2 separate regions of the Homo sapiens genome follow, and region 1 is linked to region 2. Evidence: promoter capture Hi-C in human tissues and cell types (Jung and others, 2019). All regions are on one chromosome and are shown on one strand. The core of a region is centred on a gene start or on the middle of the fragment in contact, and the rest is flanking DNA. Distances in the headings are between cores, read along the strand shown.

What was found. The method cuts DNA at HindIII sites, captures the fragments that hold promoters and counts their contacts. A contact is called where the count stands out against the background at its distance.
Region 1: a fragment that was not itself captured here is called in contact with the fragment with the promoter of DSCAM in region 2 in 3 of the 25 tissues and cell types used here (H1 embryonic stem cells, IMR-90 fibroblasts and pancreas).

Annotation. Positions count from the first base shown.
Region 1 is chr21:40,934,199-40,938,660 of GRCh38, reverse strand. No RefSeq gene overlaps it. Among named protein-coding and RNA genes, the nearest start is that of DSCAM, 89 kb to the right of the region's middle. RefSeq lists enhancers at 1,154-2,353, 3,269-3,770. The HindIII fragment of the contact is 8,381 bases long and covers 1-4,462 here.
Region 2 is chr21:40,844,718-40,848,958 of GRCh38, reverse strand. It overlaps DSCAM (DS cell adhesion molecule), which reads left to right and starts at 1,801. Exons shown (of 33, transcript NM_001389.5): 1 at 1,801-2,340. The coding sequence starts at 2,298. The HindIII fragment of the contact is 24,098 bases long and covers 1-4,241 here.

The DNA of each region.
Region 1 (4,462 bases), core at 1,305-3,804, 89 kb before region 2:
CAAGTATTGTGGGTTAAATTGTGGCCCCCAAAAGATCATAGTAATGGAACCTGAAAATGTGACCTTATTTGGAAAAAGGGTCTTTGCAGATGTAATTAAGAATATCCAGATGAGATCATCCTGGCTTAAGGGGGCCCTTAAATGAAAGACAAGAGAAGGGGAGAAAACAGACAGATGGGGGAGAAGAATATGTGAGGGCCGAGGCAGAGGTTAGAGTGAAGCATCTTCCAACCAAGGAACACCAAGGGCTTCCGGCAGCAACTGGAAGGTATGAGAAAAGGAGGGCATTGATCATCCCTCAGTGACTCCAGAAAGAACCAGCCCTGCCAACCCCTGACTTCAGACTTCTGGCCTCTAGAACTGTGAGGGAATAAATAGCTCTTGTTGTAAGACCAAGGTAATGATAAGCTGTTAAAACAGCCTGAGGAAATGAATGTACCATGTGTAGGGTGGAGAGTGGGATGGTTAGGTGCCAGGGGGTAGAGGGAGAAGGAGAGAGAAAGAGAGAAAGAAGTAACAAAGAGATGCAAGAGAGAGCTCACCTTTAAAGGAAACTTTAGTAAATACATTTTTTTTTCAGTGACAGACTGGGTGAGGAAAATATGGTACATATTTATCATGAGCCATATACATACATATCTACACATATATGTATACCATATACATATCTACACATACGTATATGTATACACATATGTATATGTGTAAATATGTATATATGTATGCCATATAAATATATATGTGTATATATGTATATATGTGTATGTGTCTATGTGTATACCATATACATATGCACCATGCAGCCATAAAAAATAATGAGATTATGTCCTTTGCAGGGAGATGGATGGAGCTGGAGGCCATTATCCTTAGCAAACTAATACAGGAACAGAAAACCAAATACGATGTCCTCACTTATAAGTGGGAGCTAAATGATGAGAACACATGGACACACAGAGGGGAACAACACACACTGGGGCAGAGGAGGGTAGAGGGTGGAGGTTGGGAAGAGGGAGACAATCAGGAAAAATAACTAATGGGTAATAATAGGCTGGGTGATAATAATACCTGGGTGATGAAGTAATTTGTAAAACAAACCCCAATGAGACAAGTTTACCTATGTAACAAACCTGCATGTGTACCCCTGAAATTAAAAGAAAAGTTACAAAAATTATATATATAATTATATTTAAAAACATATTGATATATTATAAAAATATGTATATATTTAGACATGTATACATATATATATTTTTAAAGTTTCTACTGTATACCTGGCTGTCCTAGGCACTTGGCTGTCATGGAGCTTATATTCTACTTTGAATGTCAAACTCTCCTAGGGTGAAAGTTCACCGGGGACCACCTGTGGTTCTGAATTCAGGTACTTTCCTGCCCCATTTCCCTCAGAGTGACCATCAGCCTAGAGGCAGCAAAACTGTGCTGTTGGACAGAGGAGCAGTTGCCCGAGGTGACCCAGGTGAGCCATGGAGGTTCGTGAGTCACTCAGCAGAGCTAGCAGAAAACTGTGAAAATGGGTCTGAGCTAGGCATGACAATTCCCTCAAGGACGCACTGTTCAGAACTGCACGCATCAGAAGGAAAACCAAAGACACAACATGTTACGTGAATTCCCCGAAATGAGAAAGGCTGAGTAACTTCCTTGAGAAACTGCCACCTGGAATTAGGAGTTAACCTAGTCTCCATGGACACCCAATTTCTTAAGGAATTTGAGTTGAGCCACTCCTGGATAGACAAAGGCGCCTCCCAGGCACTGAGGCTTGGTTTCCTCTTCCGGAATCACTGATTTGCCATTGGAATGTTATGAGCTCATGGAAGCAGGTGGCAGGGGAGGAGCGGAGGCCACTGGACAGCACAGCGGAGGTTGCAGTGAGCTGAGATCACGCCATTGCACTCCAGCCTAGGCAACAAGAGCGAAACTCCATCTCAAGGAAACAAACAAACAAACTCCAAAACCAACCAACCAACCAAACAAAAAACCAAAGGAGTCAAAAAGTGGAGCCCAGTTCCTAGAGAATTTGGATCATAAAGCTTTAGCTAATATGAGGAAACCCTGATGCTCTTATTTACCTCTGTGCATCTCAGCAGTCCTTGTCATGCTACTCCTGTTAATTTCTCTTCAGATGTAAAAACAGATTTTCCAAGATTTCCCCCACTTCTCTGCTTTCTTCTAAAAAACATGTATGTTTGGTGGTCTCCAGTTCTCTTTTGGAACTGTACTTCAGTTAATCTTGTTCATGGCAGATCTGAGAGCTCCTGCCTGTTGCCAATGACTGTGACTCGCTTGGCAGAAAGGAAAGCTGATCTCAGAGCGCTTCAGCTGCACCACAGATAATGTGCTCAAGTTAAAAGCAATGGAAAGGTCATAACATGTCATATCTGGAGCTGGAATGTTTCACAATTTATTGAGGATTACTTATTTTATTTTATTTTTTTCTCCATAAGCACAAATATTGCCAAGAAGAGTATGAGCTACAATTTTATGTCATGGATAAATTATTTCTTCCACATCGCAATTAATTTTTATTTAATTCATTTTCATTCATTAATTTATTCATTACACAAGTATTTCTTGAGTTCCTACTATGTGCCAAGCTCAACTGAGTTGGTTGATGGAAAATATGCCATCTTGTGCTTTTGGCCATGGACTCTGTAATTTAGTACTTTCTAGTTCTCTTCGCCCATTTCAGTAGATAGTCTCATTTAATTTTGTATTTATCACAAAGTGTATTGTTAAAATCTGAATTCACTTATATGTTTCTAAAGCAATAGTGATAATAGTTACTATAATCATAAGATGTCAAGCTGATTTAATATATTTAAAGATCAACTTGCTAACCAATTTCAATGCCAACATACTTTAAATCACTGATATAAAATGGTTGTAGGAGACAAGAAAAATTTAAAAAGAGGGATAGGAAACTTAGGTACACTGTGCCCATCAGTGACCTTGGGAACCTGTTATAAAATCTTTTACATTTTGAAAGGGTGAAATGAGTGGTTGGAGAGAGACATTTAAAAAAAAACATATGCAGGTATAACAACACATTTAGCAAACTAATTGGGGCCTGTTTGCAGTAATGAACCAACCTGTTGTCCATCACGAATGCACCAGTCAATGTTGACAATGGTGACATTGTGTGTTCCCAGGACTCAGAAGGTTGTGATGTGAAAATGATCCTCCAGTCAGCTCTGTTAGCCTTGATTCCAAATTGAACTCTTAGAGAAATATTTGGTTAGACCTGAGCTTTCAAAATAAAGCAAATGCACTTAAAAAAATCAAAATAACTTACAGACAATGGTTTTACAGAACCATGTGGATTAAGTGGATTTAACTGTAATTTTAGACAAAATAAGGTTAGTTTCAGGAGACTTCACATCAGGAGTTTTAAAAAGTTAAACAAAGCACACCAATGCAATGGAATTCCATGCTGGCTGCCTGGTGGTAAAACGAATAAGCAGCTTCCTAGATCAGCACAGTAATCAGTGGCCATTAGGCTAAAAGGAATCAAAAGATACAGAGTTCACCTAGAGTTTTTATCAGCGTTTAGTGGTTTTTGACTGAAATTACCTTATATTAGTAAAAAAAAAAAAAAAAAAAAAAAAGAAAAAAGAAAGAAAAGAAAAATCCAGATTTGCATTAGGTCTTCTAGTGGAAAATCAAAGCAAGTGTTGAACAATACAGGTCAGGAAGAAATAAAACAAAAAATCTACAAAACAAAAACAGGATCACTTTGCCGAAATAATTCAGATTAACCACAAATACCAGCGTCGCTGGGCAATTACTCCATTCCAGGCAGTGGCGGTTGGATCTTTATGCATGGCCAGATTTCTACTGAGTTTAATATTTCTCTAACAGCCACGTAAAATAGACATTCTTCAGCTAGGAGTTTGAAGGCTCCTTAGTGTAGCCTCGCAATTGCCCACCCAATCCTTTCTACCTCTGGGATGCACATGACCAGCAGGTAAGTAAGTCTCCTTCCTGGCCTTTCCTCTCCTTCCTTTTTCCTTTCTGTTTTTTCTCTCACCTGAGCACCTACCACCTTCACCAGGACGGTAAGCCCTTGGTTCACACTAAATCTGGACACCCCTCTCTCCTTAAGTCTGACTCCTCATGAAGGATGCGTACTAACTAGTTTCTTGTTGCTGCTGCCACAAATCACCACAAACTTTGTGGCTTAAAACAATACAAGTTTATTCTCCCGTAGTTTTTGGAGATCGGAAGTCTAAAATGAATCTTAGGGGGCTGAGATCAAGGAGTTGGCAGGCGTGGTTCCTTCTGGAGCTCTGGGGGAACCTGCTGCCTTGCCTTTTTCGGCTCCTGGAGACTACTGCCTGCATTCCTGGGCTTAGGCCCCCTTTGCATCACTCTGAGCGCTGCTTCTCTGGCCACATCTCCTACCGACCTCTGGCATCTGTTTTGTAAAGACCCTGGTGATTCCATGGGG
Region 2 (4,241 bases), core at 552-3,051:
ACAGTGGCTTCCCCACCCCCTAACTGTGGCTGGCCACAGCATGTGGGTGCAGCCAAGGGCAGGGAAGCAACTGGCAAGTGGAAGCCTCTTGTACTGCACTGAGTCACCTGGAAGGTCTGTGGGGTCTGTACAGGGGTGCATTCCCACGCCCAAGGAAGAGCAGCATGTAGCAGAAAACACCATGACTGGTTGAGAGAGGCAGGAAGAAAGGAGGAAGTGTTCTGTTTTAGCACTTGTTATGGTGCTTCTTTTTCATTTTGAGAAAGGAGCTCTCCATTTTCATTTTATAGTGGACCCCACAAATCATGTTTCCAGCCCTGCTCCCAAACTCAGTAACAGTTAACCACAGCCATCGCTAACTACAGTGACCATGTGCTGTCAACGGATGGAAAGATCTTCACACCTCTGTGAGTTAAGAACTGTGATAATTTCCAGTCTGCATATGAGGAAATTGAGGCTCGAGTCACATGCAGAAGCCCCACATCGGGGTAGTGGAGGAGCTGCAATTCGACCCTGGGTTTCCCTGACCCCAGTGCCTGGGCACCCTTGCAGGTGGCTAGTGTGCAAGTAAGAATTAATGAATAGGTCAACCAGCCAGATGCAGGGACAGAATCAGGCCCATCCCCTGCCTTCCTGGGTTGCATTTGGGAAGGACCAGGGACTGAGCACCCAGCATTTGCAAAGCCAGAGGATGCTGGTTCTGGTGCGTGGTACTGGGGGCTGGGCCTGCGCAGCCTGAGTGGGCGGCAGCACGTGATCACCTGCAGCTGCAGAGCCGTGGTGAGCCAGGCAGCATCACCGGCTCAGCTGACCCTTCCTGGTACACAGGGCCTGGCCATCTTGTGCCCAACCCTGGTAAAGCACCATTTTGTTTCTGCCTCACCATTTGCTTCTCCTGTGTTTTGTGAGCTGTCTGAGATGTGCATCATTCTTCTGTATTTGGAGGGGGACATGGAGCCCAGTTAGGATACCTAGTGCCTAGGAAAAAGCCTACTCAATTTCCCTTGAAAATGTCTCCCTTGACCCCCACCGAATGCTTTTTTTCAGTCCTGATTGTCCTGACTGTGAGCATTCCATCCTGGCTTCTACACTGGGGTGCATTCCAGCCCTGTCGGTCATTATATTGCAAAGTGATGGATAGATGTACGCCCTTGTGAGAGCTTTAATTTAAATATTATCATGACTTCAAGAATCATACAGAACATTCAGGAAATGTTAACATATTGACTTTTCACAGAAACGTGAAAGGGGCTATATGTTTGGGATTACTCAAATTATCAGCAATTTCAATCAGCTTTTTTATGCGCCATTCAGAGAGCAAAATTAGAAGTGCTTGTGTTTGCATTCTACCATGTATTCAAGATAATTAAAAATTAGCCCGTGAAATCATAGAGATCTTTACAGTAGCAGCAAGGATTTGGAAGGAGCATTTCCCTCTAAGCAAATGAACTGGACTTTTCTGAGAGTAAATACGGAATCGGAATCCAGCTGCACATTTTATTAAAACTACGAGCATTTCATGTTCACCTCTCCGTGGCTGGCCACCTTCCGCAATAGTCACCCCGGCCATCCCTTATTAGCAACCGGCAGGAAAATAACTAAAAATAAGCAGCTGTTGAAATGATTATTTAAGCCTCTAAGAAATTCCTCCTGATGACTGTGCGTGACTGTGCGGTGGCTGCGCTCTCCCCGGTCCTGCCTCAGTTCGGCTGCACGTCTCTGCTGCTGCTTTAAGACTGCAGAGCGCCCCAGCGGCCAGAGGCAGGGGAGGGGTCCCTGCTCGCCTCCGCGCTCGGCTTCACTCGCCCGGCTCGCAGGCAGGGAAGGTTGGCAGAGGGATCCATGTGACTGAGGCCGGAGCACGGCAAAGATGAGCCTGCCCGCCCGCCTGCTGCCTGGATGCGGAGGGTGAGGGCTGGCGCACGGGAGGCCGCTGGCTGCGCATTCTGGGCGCCGAGTGCCCGGGATGAGCTCACGCCCGCGTCTGCGGCTCTCTCCACCTGCCGACCTGCCGGGGGCCCACTGAGCTGACGGCGCACCTGGGCTCCGGCCGCAGCGTGGGGCGCGGCGCCCGGGAGCAGGTGTGCAGGAGCGCAGCGCGCGGCGAGCGCAGCCCTCGCTCCGGAGCCCGGCCGCGCCGCGTGCCCGGGCGGCTAGGCAGCGGCGGCGGCGGCGGCGGGCGGCGGGCGGGCGGCGGCCCCCGGGCAGGTGCCGAGCGGCGAGCGGAGCCGGGCCGGGCGGAGCGCGGGGGGCGAGGCCGGCGCGTCGCTCGCGGGAGGCCGGGGAGCGGCAGGGGCATGTGGATACTGGCTCTCTCCTTGTTCCAGAGCTTCGCGAATGGTGAGCCTTTCGGTTTGTGATGAATTTCGTTTCCTTATCATTGACCGGGGGGGCGGGGGGGTGGGGGGTGGCATTGGATGCATGGGTAAAGTCTTCTTTCTTTTTCCGCTTCATCTGTGTTTAAAATTTCGTGCTTTTATTTATTTTTTAAATATCATATTTATTTTTTGGGGGAGAAGAGGTGGCAATGGAGAGGCCCGGGAGAAATTGCTCTGTAATCATTGGAAGGCGCTTACCTAGCCAAGTGACAGCTCAGAGCCTAACTCCAGTACTAGAGAGCTGCCTCATTCAGAATAAACCAGGTTTGGTGACAGAAGGAGAGACAGGAAGATTGCCACTTTGAATATTACAACCTGGAAAGGGATGTGACATTCCAAGTGCACGCAAGTGGAGGGGTCAATGAGGAACATCTCCCTTCAGATTCAATGCTTTTTGAGATTTTTCAAACACGTAATTTCATGCTAGTACAATGTATCTCCAGCACCAAGGAGGGCTTTAAGAATGTTCTGTCCTTCTATGCACCCCGTGCTGCTTCATGCTCCTCACAGTCGTTTATGTAAAAATATGCACTGATAAGCATTACATCATCTGAAATGTTGACAAATTAAAAAAAAAAAAACACCTGTATAGTTGTAAAAATGAAATCAGTGAATATTGTAAATAGCATACATTTCCTCATGCCCAGCCAATATTATATTTTGAAATGATTTCTTCCTGGGTATTTAGAAAGCTATTGCTCTTGACTGAGTCAGACCCAATTAGTAAGTGTGACTGCACCTTAGGCTGCCTGTCACCGCATAAATATGAACTTACATGTATGAATGGCTTCCTCTCTTGTGGGAACCAGAGGAAATTGTCATCATTTGACATCGCCTGGGAGTAGCTACGGCTTAAATTCCCATTTCAAATTTTGGAACACACATCTGCATAAAATGTATAACCTACTGACAGTTGAAATTAAACCATTAAGCAGAATCCCCTAGCCAGAAGAGAGGAGAGAGAGAGAGAGAAAGAGAGGAGGGAGAGAGAGCGAGACAGACACAGAGACAGAGAGAGAGAGAGAGAGAGAGAGAGAGAGGAGAAGAAGAGAAGGTAAAAGAAGAGAAGAGAGGAAATCTGGCCCTTGTGAGAAAATACGAGAAGCAAAGGGGAGGCTCTAAGATTTTCCTGGAAGACACACAGGGAAGCTCTGTGTGTTGGCTGCAAGGCAGTGCATTTTCTTTGCCTACCTAGACAGTGCCTAAAGAATCAGCATACCAACAGGCCAGAAGAAATGCATGAGCATTGTCAATTTTTTAAAAAAACGGTGACTAAGAAAAGGTAGAGTTGAAAGAAGGTACTATCAAAATGAACATGAAAATGATACTTTGCTCTCCAGTATAACCTAAAGCAAAGTGTTTGAAACTTTCATTTTGAGATTTCCTAGCAGGAAAGAATTGCAACAAGTTCTGACAAGACACCCATCTTTCCCAGAGGGCACCATACCTGTCCTGTGTCCTCCTGGGAATTTCCCTTCAGGGACAGATGTGCTTAGGGAACATGCGGAGATGTGTCGGGGAAGTCAGCCCTTTCTGCTCTTCTGCTAATGCGACCTCCTAAGAAATGTAGAGATGCCTACACATGTGTTCCAAAGACACAGAGCCTTGACACCCTGTTTCGCCTGTCAGGGAGTACCTTTCTGAACTCCTTGGAAAGGCCTGGGTTATAAGAAGAAACAAAATTTGCACCCCATTGGGAAGTGTGTGTTTCAGGATGATGAAAGAGGCTGTGCTGGTTGTCAGTCAGCCAGTATTTATTTACAGTTTTAGCATTTTGTATGACAAAATGGTATGGAAGAATTTATGATACTGATACAGACTATTAGCCTCTGATACAGAGATGCTATATGTGTGTGTGACTTT